3 separate regions of the Homo sapiens genome follow, and all the other regions are linked to region 2. The links are contacts of gene promoters, found by promoter capture Hi-C in blood cells and fetal thymus (Javierre and others, 2016). All regions are on one chromosome and are shown on one strand. The core of a region is centred on a gene start or on the middle of the fragment in contact, and the rest is flanking DNA. Distances in the headings are between cores, read along the strand shown.

Region 1 (2,735 bases), core at 22-2,521, 6.9 Mb after region 2:
GAATGAGAGGCGGGAGAGTGACTTGAATGAAGCTGACACCAAGAACCGCGGGAAGAGCTTGGGCCCAAAGCAGGAAAGGGAAGCGCTCGAGTTGGGGGTAAGGGGAGGCATTTTGGGGACAATGAGCTGAGCTCAGTAAGAAATCCCCAAGCCACTGATACTACTGGGGACCGGACAACTAAGAAATGGGGTCTTTCAGGCATGAAAAGCCTCCATGATGACTCCTGCCCTGGCCCTGGAATGTTAAAAAGGGGGCGTCTGACCCAAGCGAGCCATTTCTTGAGGCTATGCGGGTAGACAGGGAGAGCAGGTTTCTCAGGGGGACGGGGACAGGCGAGGCTGTCGCCGTAGGTAGGTAAGGGGACAGTCTTCTTCCGAATCGCTCCTGCCCCGTTTTTTATCTCGTTCCCACCCCCACTCCGGTTTTCACCCTGCCCTCCTCTCCCCACCGCCCCGTGTTCTCCTCACTTCCCTCTCCCATTACCGGAGCCATTGAGTAGCCCCCCTTGTTTTACCCTAGCCTTGACCCTCGCCGCACCCCCCAATTCTTACGTCCTCCCCAGCACCCGGTTATTACACCTTCCTTCCACCCCCTCCCCATTTTCCCCTAAGCCCAGCTCTCCCCAGGTTTCTTCTCGGCCAGTATTCCCTCCAACCTATTTCTCCCGCCCCCATTTTTACCCGTTTCCCCCCTCATCGGCCTTCGCATGGCTCCATTTTCACCTGCCCCTCCCCTCGATTTCGCTTCAGCCCCTTTGGTTCCCCTTACCCCCACAGCCCTCGGTCTCCCTCTCTCCGTTCTCCCCGGATCGCCGCTTCCCCTGCTTGGTTTTTCTCTCAGCCCGGCTCTACCACTCTCCAACACCCCCTTTTCCCCTGAGCCCGGCTTCCCCTACTCCGGTTTCTATCGCTCCCCTTTTCCCGGTTTCCCTCAGCTCTGTTCACCTCCCTCCCTTCCCCGTTTTTATCCGGCGCTGGTTCCCCTCAGGACCCCGCACAACCCCTGGGTTTTATCCCGTTCGCGCCCCACCCCGTTTCCGCTCAGCTCCCCCCACCCCTGCCCCATTTTTATCTGGTTCGCGCGTCTTCCCCGCCCCCGTTTCCCCTGAGCAACCCCTCAGCTTTTATCCCGTCAGCGTACCGCCTCCCCGATTTTCCATCTTTTCCCTCAGCTGCCCCCCACCGTTTTTATCCCGTCCGCACCCCCCCTCCGTTTCCCCTGCGCCCCGCCCCCGCGCGTCTCCGCCCGCGCCCACCGCCATGTGACGGGAAGCAGCTGATGGCCTCTCCGGGCGGCGGCGGCGGCCTGGCCGGGGCGGGCGGCGCGGGGGCGGCATGAGGGCCCGCGGCCCGGGGGGCTGAGGCGCCCGCCGCCTGCCGCGGGGGCCGCTCGCGTCCTCCATGGAGGCCGGAGGTGAGTGGGGCCGGGCGCGCCCGTTCCCGCCCGGCGGGGCCCTGGCCCGTTCTCCCCGGGGAGGGGGGAGGCGACCCCGGGGCGGGCTGGGCGGGGTGGGGCGGGGGCTGGACGCGGCGGGGGCGTCCGGCCTGGGAGGTCCGCGCGGGGCCGGCGGGGGTGCGCGCCCGGCGACCAGCTTTGTTTCACTTTCGTTGTCAGTGGCCGCCACCCTGACTCCCGCCGGCGACAGGATCGGGAAGATCGGGCTTCTGCGGGAGGAGATCCCCCGACCGGGACAGAGGGGGCTCCCGGGTGGGACTCGGGGCGGGGGGCACCAAGCCCTAAAACGGAGATCCCCAAGGGGGTGGGTGCCCCTGGGTACCCAGGTGCCAGGGGACGCACTTGCATGTCTGGATGGGAGTCACCTCTGTCCCTCACAAGCTGTGTGATCGTGACAGTGGACAAGCCACTGAACCACCGCCACCCACGTCTCAGTTTTGATCTGCAAAATGGGATAATCCTAGTACCTTCCTCGGAGGGTGGCTGGGACCCGGTAAAAATGGGGTCTGGGGTCTGGGTTCCCTATTGAAACAATCTATTCCCAGCCTCTCCCACTGGAGATTAAGTCAGTGGAGGTGGGGCGGGACTGGAGACGCTGATCCCTGGTGACATGTATGATCAGGCAAATTTAGGATACACTGATGGGTGGGGACCTTGCCTCTATTCTTGTTAACTGCCATCCCCATCAGAAGACAGCGTGGAAGTCAGAGGATATTGGATATACCTCAAGCCAGCCCAGATGAACATAAAATCTCAGTGGGAAAGGTGTGTCTCTTATGCAAGGGGAAAAAAACCCCAAGACGCATGCACGCCTTGGCCCTCTCCCCTCCAACGACCTTCCCTCGGAACCCCACTTGGGATAGATTTAGAATTGATTCCGGGAGTCCCAGGTCTTGAAGGACCCGAGTTTAAATGTAATTTCCTTAGGAGAAATTTTCAGAGCAGGTTCAAGGCCTAGGGCTCAGAATTTGTTCCAGAACTTCATGGTAATCTTGCAGCCAAGTTCAAGCTTCATCCTGGTCTGGAGGGTTCTGATTGCTGATGGCTTGTTACTGTGGGTGGGAAGGTTGAAATCTGGGTATTCCCTGGGGTGGTGTTACTTTTTAATTTAGGAAATGACATTTCTTTGTTTGCTGAAGTCAGGCATTGAGTTAAAGGCAGCTCTCTCTCCTTCCCATCTAGATAAGGGCTTTCTTTTCAGTGAGTGTTACCCGTAGAATTCTTTTTAAAAGGGCCCCTACTGTTTGTGTAGATCCTATGTGAATCTTTTTATAGCTTC
Region 2 (2,700 bases), core at 176-2,675:
CAGTGAGCCCAGATCATGCCACTGCACTCCAGCCTGGGCGACAGAGCAAAACTCTGTCTCAAAACAAACCAACCAACCAAAAACTAAAAGCCTCTCGCACTCCCGTGTGTATTGCAGCTTTATTCATAAGTGCCTAGATGTGTCCGTCAACAGATACATGGATAGAGAAAATGTGTACATACGCAATAGAATACTATTCGACCTTAAAAAAATACAAAACAAAATGAAATCCTGTCATTTTTCCTCTACGAAACAAAAATAAAAACATGGCTAAGTTTGGGCGACATTACATAAAGTGAAATAAACCGGGCACAGAAAGATAAATACTGCATGATCTCACTCACGTGCGGAAGCTGAAATAGTTGGTCTCACAGAGAGAATAGTGGTTACTGCAGGTAGTGAAGGTGGGGGGAGGTGGGATAGCCAAAGGGGGGTTACTGGATACAAAAGTACAGCTGAATAGGAGGAATAAGTTCCAGTGTCCCTATAGAGTGAATACAACAACTTATTGTACGTTTTCAAATAGCTGGAAGCGTGGATTTTTAATGTCTCCCAGCACAGAGAAATGATACATGTTTGAAGGGATGGATGTGGTCATTGCCCTGATTTGAACATTACAAATTGTGTACATAGATCACAACATCACACCACACCTCATAAATGTGCACAATTGTTATGCGTCCAAACAATAATAAAAACCAAAAATAAAAATGAAACACGTGGAAACAGGAAAAACGCCTTTAAGAATAGAGTATAGCAAGGACTTCCAAAAGCAAGTACAGGAAAGGGAGGGGGATGTAGCTCAGTGGTAGAGCGCATGCTTTGCATGTATGAGGCCCCGGGTTCGATCCCCGGCATCTCCATTGTAGTTTTGTTGCTTTCTGTATTCGTTTTGGTCCGTGGTTCTTTATCATTAAAGTGCCATGGATGTGATTATCATAAGCATTGTGATTCCAGGCACTACTTGGAGCTCAGATTCTCACACCAGGTGTGATCTTCCCATTCTGAAATCTCTAATGTTTCAAATGCACATGAGTTAGAAGAGGCTGATGGGAGTAATCAGCAGAAAAGTGTTAAGGCAAAACCTGACTTGATGACTGAAACCACAGCAAAAGTGAGCAGGATGATCATTTGGGGAGTGTACACCACATCTCGTGCCACCATGATTGTACTGCACTGGCCTCGAGGGCTGTTGACGCATTCTTGGCCATCAGAGGGCAAGTGTGTAAGTTGCTGGAAGGTCTGGGCCCCCCTGTTTGCCATCTCACTCCTCCTCTGCACTGCCACGAACCACCTCATTTGCATGGGAGGAACCCAGAAGCAAACTCACATCCCAGCGGGGCTTTGCTCTCTGCTTCCTCAGCAACACGTCTCCACGGCTGTAATGCAAGTGCAATTTACATTTATATTCATACACTGTGTTCCGGGGTGAGCAGGCCTATGCAAACCTACCCCAAAGGCCAAGGGAGCTGAGAGGCCAAAGAAAGGGGTTGACAAACCCAGTTTCTCAGGAAAAAACATTTATTAGGGACTTACCAACAGAAGCCATAGTCTCAGGGTGGTCATCAGAGGATATAAGGTTTGCTGCGCCATAACCCCCGGCCCAGGGCTTCCATACCATAGGGAAGGAATATATGTAGGACAATTGAAGTTGACCCCTCAAGCAAGGCAAGAATGTTATGTGAATCCGCATAAGGGAAGGATTTATGATCTAGGTTGTTCTGATCTAAGGGCAGAATTTATGGTAACAGTAAAGTAGAAATCTTAGAGACCTTCCTGGAAGAGGCATTAATCGGAAGTTATCTTGGTGGATTAGCAACCAAGATGGAGTTGCTTTCACCTCCACTGTGTTTCTGTGTTTTATCACTGAAAGCAAAAGATGGTGGCTCAGGCCTGTAATCCCAGCACTTTGGGAGGCATGAGGCAGGAGAATTGCTTGAGGCCAGGAGTTTGAAAGCAGCCTGGGCAACAAAGGGAGACCTTGGCTCGGAAAGGAAAGGAAAGGAAAGGAAGGGGAAGGGGAGGGAAAGGGGAAGGGGAGGGGAGGGGAGATTGATTTACTTGCATGAATGATCTTTAGGCAAAAATAAATACATAAAAATAAATTATATTTTTTAAAGTTTAACCAGTTCCCAGCTCTCTAAATAATAATAAGAATGAAAGAAGGGATTCGGCTGCATTCTGTGGTACAGTTCTTTGCAATTATAATGAATTCCTCACCTGTCAGCCCCTTTCTTTCATTTGACTTGACTTCATGTTTTAAATGGTAAAAGCGTCTAATCCTAGATCTAGAGCTTTCATTTTTGAGATGAAGAAAATGAAACTTGCGAACTGACTCACCAGTTAGGTGGTGACGCATTGGTGACAGCTTGTTTCTAATGAGCTTCAGGAAAGGTTATTTCTCCCTAAATGTCAACAAGGTTTTAGGGGAAAATCATTGAAGATAATTTCTGAAGTCATCAGGCCTAACACAAAACTTACATGCTTCTGTAACTGCCCAACAGTTTCTCCTTGCCCGCTGCCTAGACAGAGCCCATTTATTAGGACAGGGAAACTGTGATCCGCCCACCTCAGCCTCCCGAAGTGCTGGGATTACAGGCGCAAGCCACCTCGCCCTGCCATAATAGAGAACGTTTAATTCACACACAGCTGGCAGTGTGGGAGACGGGAGTTTTACTATTACTCAAATCAGTCTCCCTG
Region 3 (2,700 bases), core at 143-2,642, 6.5 Mb after region 2:
GATTCTCCTGCCTCAGCCTTTCTAGTAGCTGGGATTACAGGTGGGTGCCACCATGCCCGGCTAATTTTTGTATTTTTCGTACAGACGGGATTTCACCATGTTGGCCAGGCAGGTCTGGAACCCTTGACCTCAGGTGATGAATGGCGTATGATTCTTAAAACACTAGAAGAAACATGTATACTGTTTAGAACACAAACACATTTTGTCAGCTGGAGTTAAAAAGTTAACAATCGAGGGTTCTCTGAGAACTAAGGCCTGTATACATCTGACAAAACTTAGGATCAAAATGTGTTCCTGAGACAATTTCTTCATAAAATGCTAAATTCTAAAGTCCATAAACTTACTTTTGGCGTTAAGAGTAAGGAAAGCAGTTTTCTGTTTCCGGTGTTGATTTGATCAGCATATCCAGTTTCACAAAAATAACACAAATGGGTCTTAGTAGCATGATGCACTTTCACCCCTGGCAGGCACTATCCTTTAGCGTGGATCAAGAGGAGTCTCTGATTATCACATGTTAAACCTGGGTCAAAGCTCGTTATCCTTTGGCCACACGTTCACATAGAATCATTAAAACCTGTGGCCCTGGAAAAAGGTTATATTGAATAGCTTTGCTGAAACCTTGTTAAGCTAATAATAGGGTTCCCCTACCACAGTCTTCCTACTGTCATAAAAACCTACAAACTGAAAATTTCTAAAGCTTTGTCCTTGCACCTATCAAAATGTGCCCCGCATTGAACGCTTAGTTGGGCAAAGTATGCACCTAGTACTGTATATAGATTTTTTTTCCCCCAACGGTATCAAACTGACGGCTGCTGAACTCAATTCAAGGAGAGGCAACTCCCTTGCAAGAGATTTTAAAAAGAAATGGTTTAAATCCAGGAAATTTTTACAAATCCTGGGCAAATTAATGCTATATTAGTTCATGGCAGAATTACTAAGAAAGCTGTGCAAGGTCTAGCGAGAGACTGGGGTCCTCCCCAAAGGCTCTAACATGGTGGTCCCTGGGAATCTCCCAAGAAAAGTAAAGGCGTGGGGAGAAGCGCCATGAACTTTGACCGGAGAGCAGCACAAACAAGACTGACCGCACCCCAGGCGGGCCCGTAGGTTACTAAAGTTGCAAGGTCTTCCGCGTCTGAGGAGACCCCGCCCTGCCCTGTCCCGCCCATCGACAACTCCGCCAATCCTCGGGTTCCATCGACCGCTCGGCTTCCCAGGCTCCATCAATCAAATACCTATATACGGCCCCGGCCCTGTGCCCCGCGATCAGGGAAGGTCAGTAGAGAGCCTATTGGAGCCGAGCTTGGGGCGTGGTCCGGGGCAGGGGGCGGGCGGACTGAGACGGTGGGGCGGGGCGTGCTCGGCGCAGTCCGGTGCGATTGGCCACCCCTGGCAGGAGCCGCACCTCGGACAGCAGCAGCGGCGGCGGCCGCGGGAGGGTCCTTGTGGCGCCGGGCGGCGGGGTCCTGCGTGGAGAGTGGGACGCAACGCCGAGACCGCGAGCAGAGGCTGCGCACAGCCGGATCCGGCACTCAGCGACCGGACCCAAGGATCCGCCGGGGAACAAGCCACAGGAGAGCGACTCAGGAACAAGTGTGGGAGAGGAAGCGGCGGCGGCGGCGCCGGGCCCGGGGGTGGTGACAGCAGGTCTGAGGTGAGAGCACCGGGGCGCGGGGCATGACAGTGGGAGCCGAGGCGGCGGGACCCCAGGCAGAGTGAGGGGAGTTGCGGGAGCGGGCTCGACAGTGCAGACTGTGGAGAGGAGACCCCGGGAGGGACCGGGACAGCGGGTGAGGAGAGGGGACTCCGAGAGGGACCGAGGCAGTGGCTCTGAGTGGAGAGGACTCCGAGAGGGTCCAAGACTGAAAGTCTGAGGGGAGGGGTCTCCAAGAGGGGCCGGGACAGTGCGCGTGAGAGGAAGGGACCCGGAGAGGGGCTGGGGTAGTGGGGTGAGGGGTGGGTGCCTCATGAGGCACTAGGATAGGGGGATGAGGGGAGGGGGTCCCCTGAAGGACCAGGTCCCAGAAAAGGTCAGGGACAGCGGGGAGAGGGGAAGGGTCCCCGAGAGGGGCCGGCACTGAGAGTCTGAGAGATGGGGACCCCGAGAGGGGCTGGGACAGCACCCGGGGAGAGGAGACCCCGAGGTGAGGGGAGGGGACCCAGAGAGAATCCAGGACAGAGTAAAGAGAGGGGACCGGTCAGGGGATGTGAAGACAGGGGATCCCCAGAGGGCTTAGAACAGAGTGTGAGAAGACCCCAGGAAGGGCCAAGACAGTGGGAGAAGAGGAGGGGTCCCGGAAGGGGGCTGGGCTGAGACAGCGGGGCTGAGAGCAGGACACCTAGAGAGAGGCCGGGACAGCGGGTGGGAGCAGGGTGACCCCGAGAGGGGCCAGGACAGCGGGGTGAGAGGAGGGGACCCCCAGAGGGCTCGGGACAGCGCATGCGAGCGTGGGACTCCGAGAGGGGCTTTGAGCGTCGGGTGCAGGCGCGGACCCCGAGGGAGGAGCGGTGCCCCATGGGTGCGGGTCGGGCCCCCAGTCACATAGCGGGGGCCCGGCGTGAGCAGCGAGGGAGCGGGCGGGGGGTCGCGCCCGCTGAGTTGCGGGAGCCCCCCCAAGAACGGCTGCGGCGGGGAGCCTGGGTCGCAGTCGCGGCGTCGGGCAAATAGGAACCGGCTGCAGCGCAGACGAGTGGAGCGGGGAG

Evidence for each region. Contacts are between HindIII fragments. The CHiCAGO score rates a contact against its expected background, and 5 or more counts as called.
Region 1: the fragment with the promoter of WSB2 here is called in contact with a fragment that was not itself captured in region 2 in 2 of 17 cell types (M2 macrophages and total CD4 T cells); the score reaches 6.5 in M2 macrophages.
Region 3: the fragment with the promoter of TAOK3 here is called in contact with a fragment that was not itself captured in region 2 in 1 of 17 cell types (total CD4 T cells); the score reaches 10.6 in total CD4 T cells.

Annotation. Positions count from the first base shown.
Region 1 is chr12:118,059,715-118,062,449 of GRCh38, reverse strand. WSB2 (WD repeat and SOCS box containing 2) reads left to right here and starts at 1,271. Exons shown (of 9, transcript NM_018639.5): 1 at 1,271-1,414. The coding sequence starts at 1,402. LOC124903030 (a long non-coding RNA gene) reads right to left here and starts at 990. Exons shown (of 2, transcript XR_007063479.1): 1 at 770-990. RefSeq lists a silencer at 1,812-1,861. The HindIII fragment of the contact is 4,146 bases long and covers 1-2,467 here.
Region 2 is chr12:124,919,918-124,922,617 of GRCh38, reverse strand. TRA-TGC3-2 (tRNA-Ala (anticodon TGC) 3-2) reads left to right here and starts at 792; the gene lies at 792-863. RefSeq lists enhancers at 997-1,316, 883-1,561, 1,397-1,586 and a cis regulatory region at 1,171-1,341. The HindIII fragment of the contact is 6,001 bases long and covers 1-2,700 here.
Region 3 is chr12:118,371,599-118,374,298 of GRCh38, reverse strand. TAOK3 (TAO kinase 3) reads left to right here and starts at 1,392. Exons shown (of 21, transcript NM_016281.4): 1 at 1,392-1,651. RefSeq lists an enhancer at 899-948 and silencers at 1,269-1,518, 2,303-2,362, 2,463-2,552. The HindIII fragment of the contact is 12,374 bases long and covers 700-2,700 here.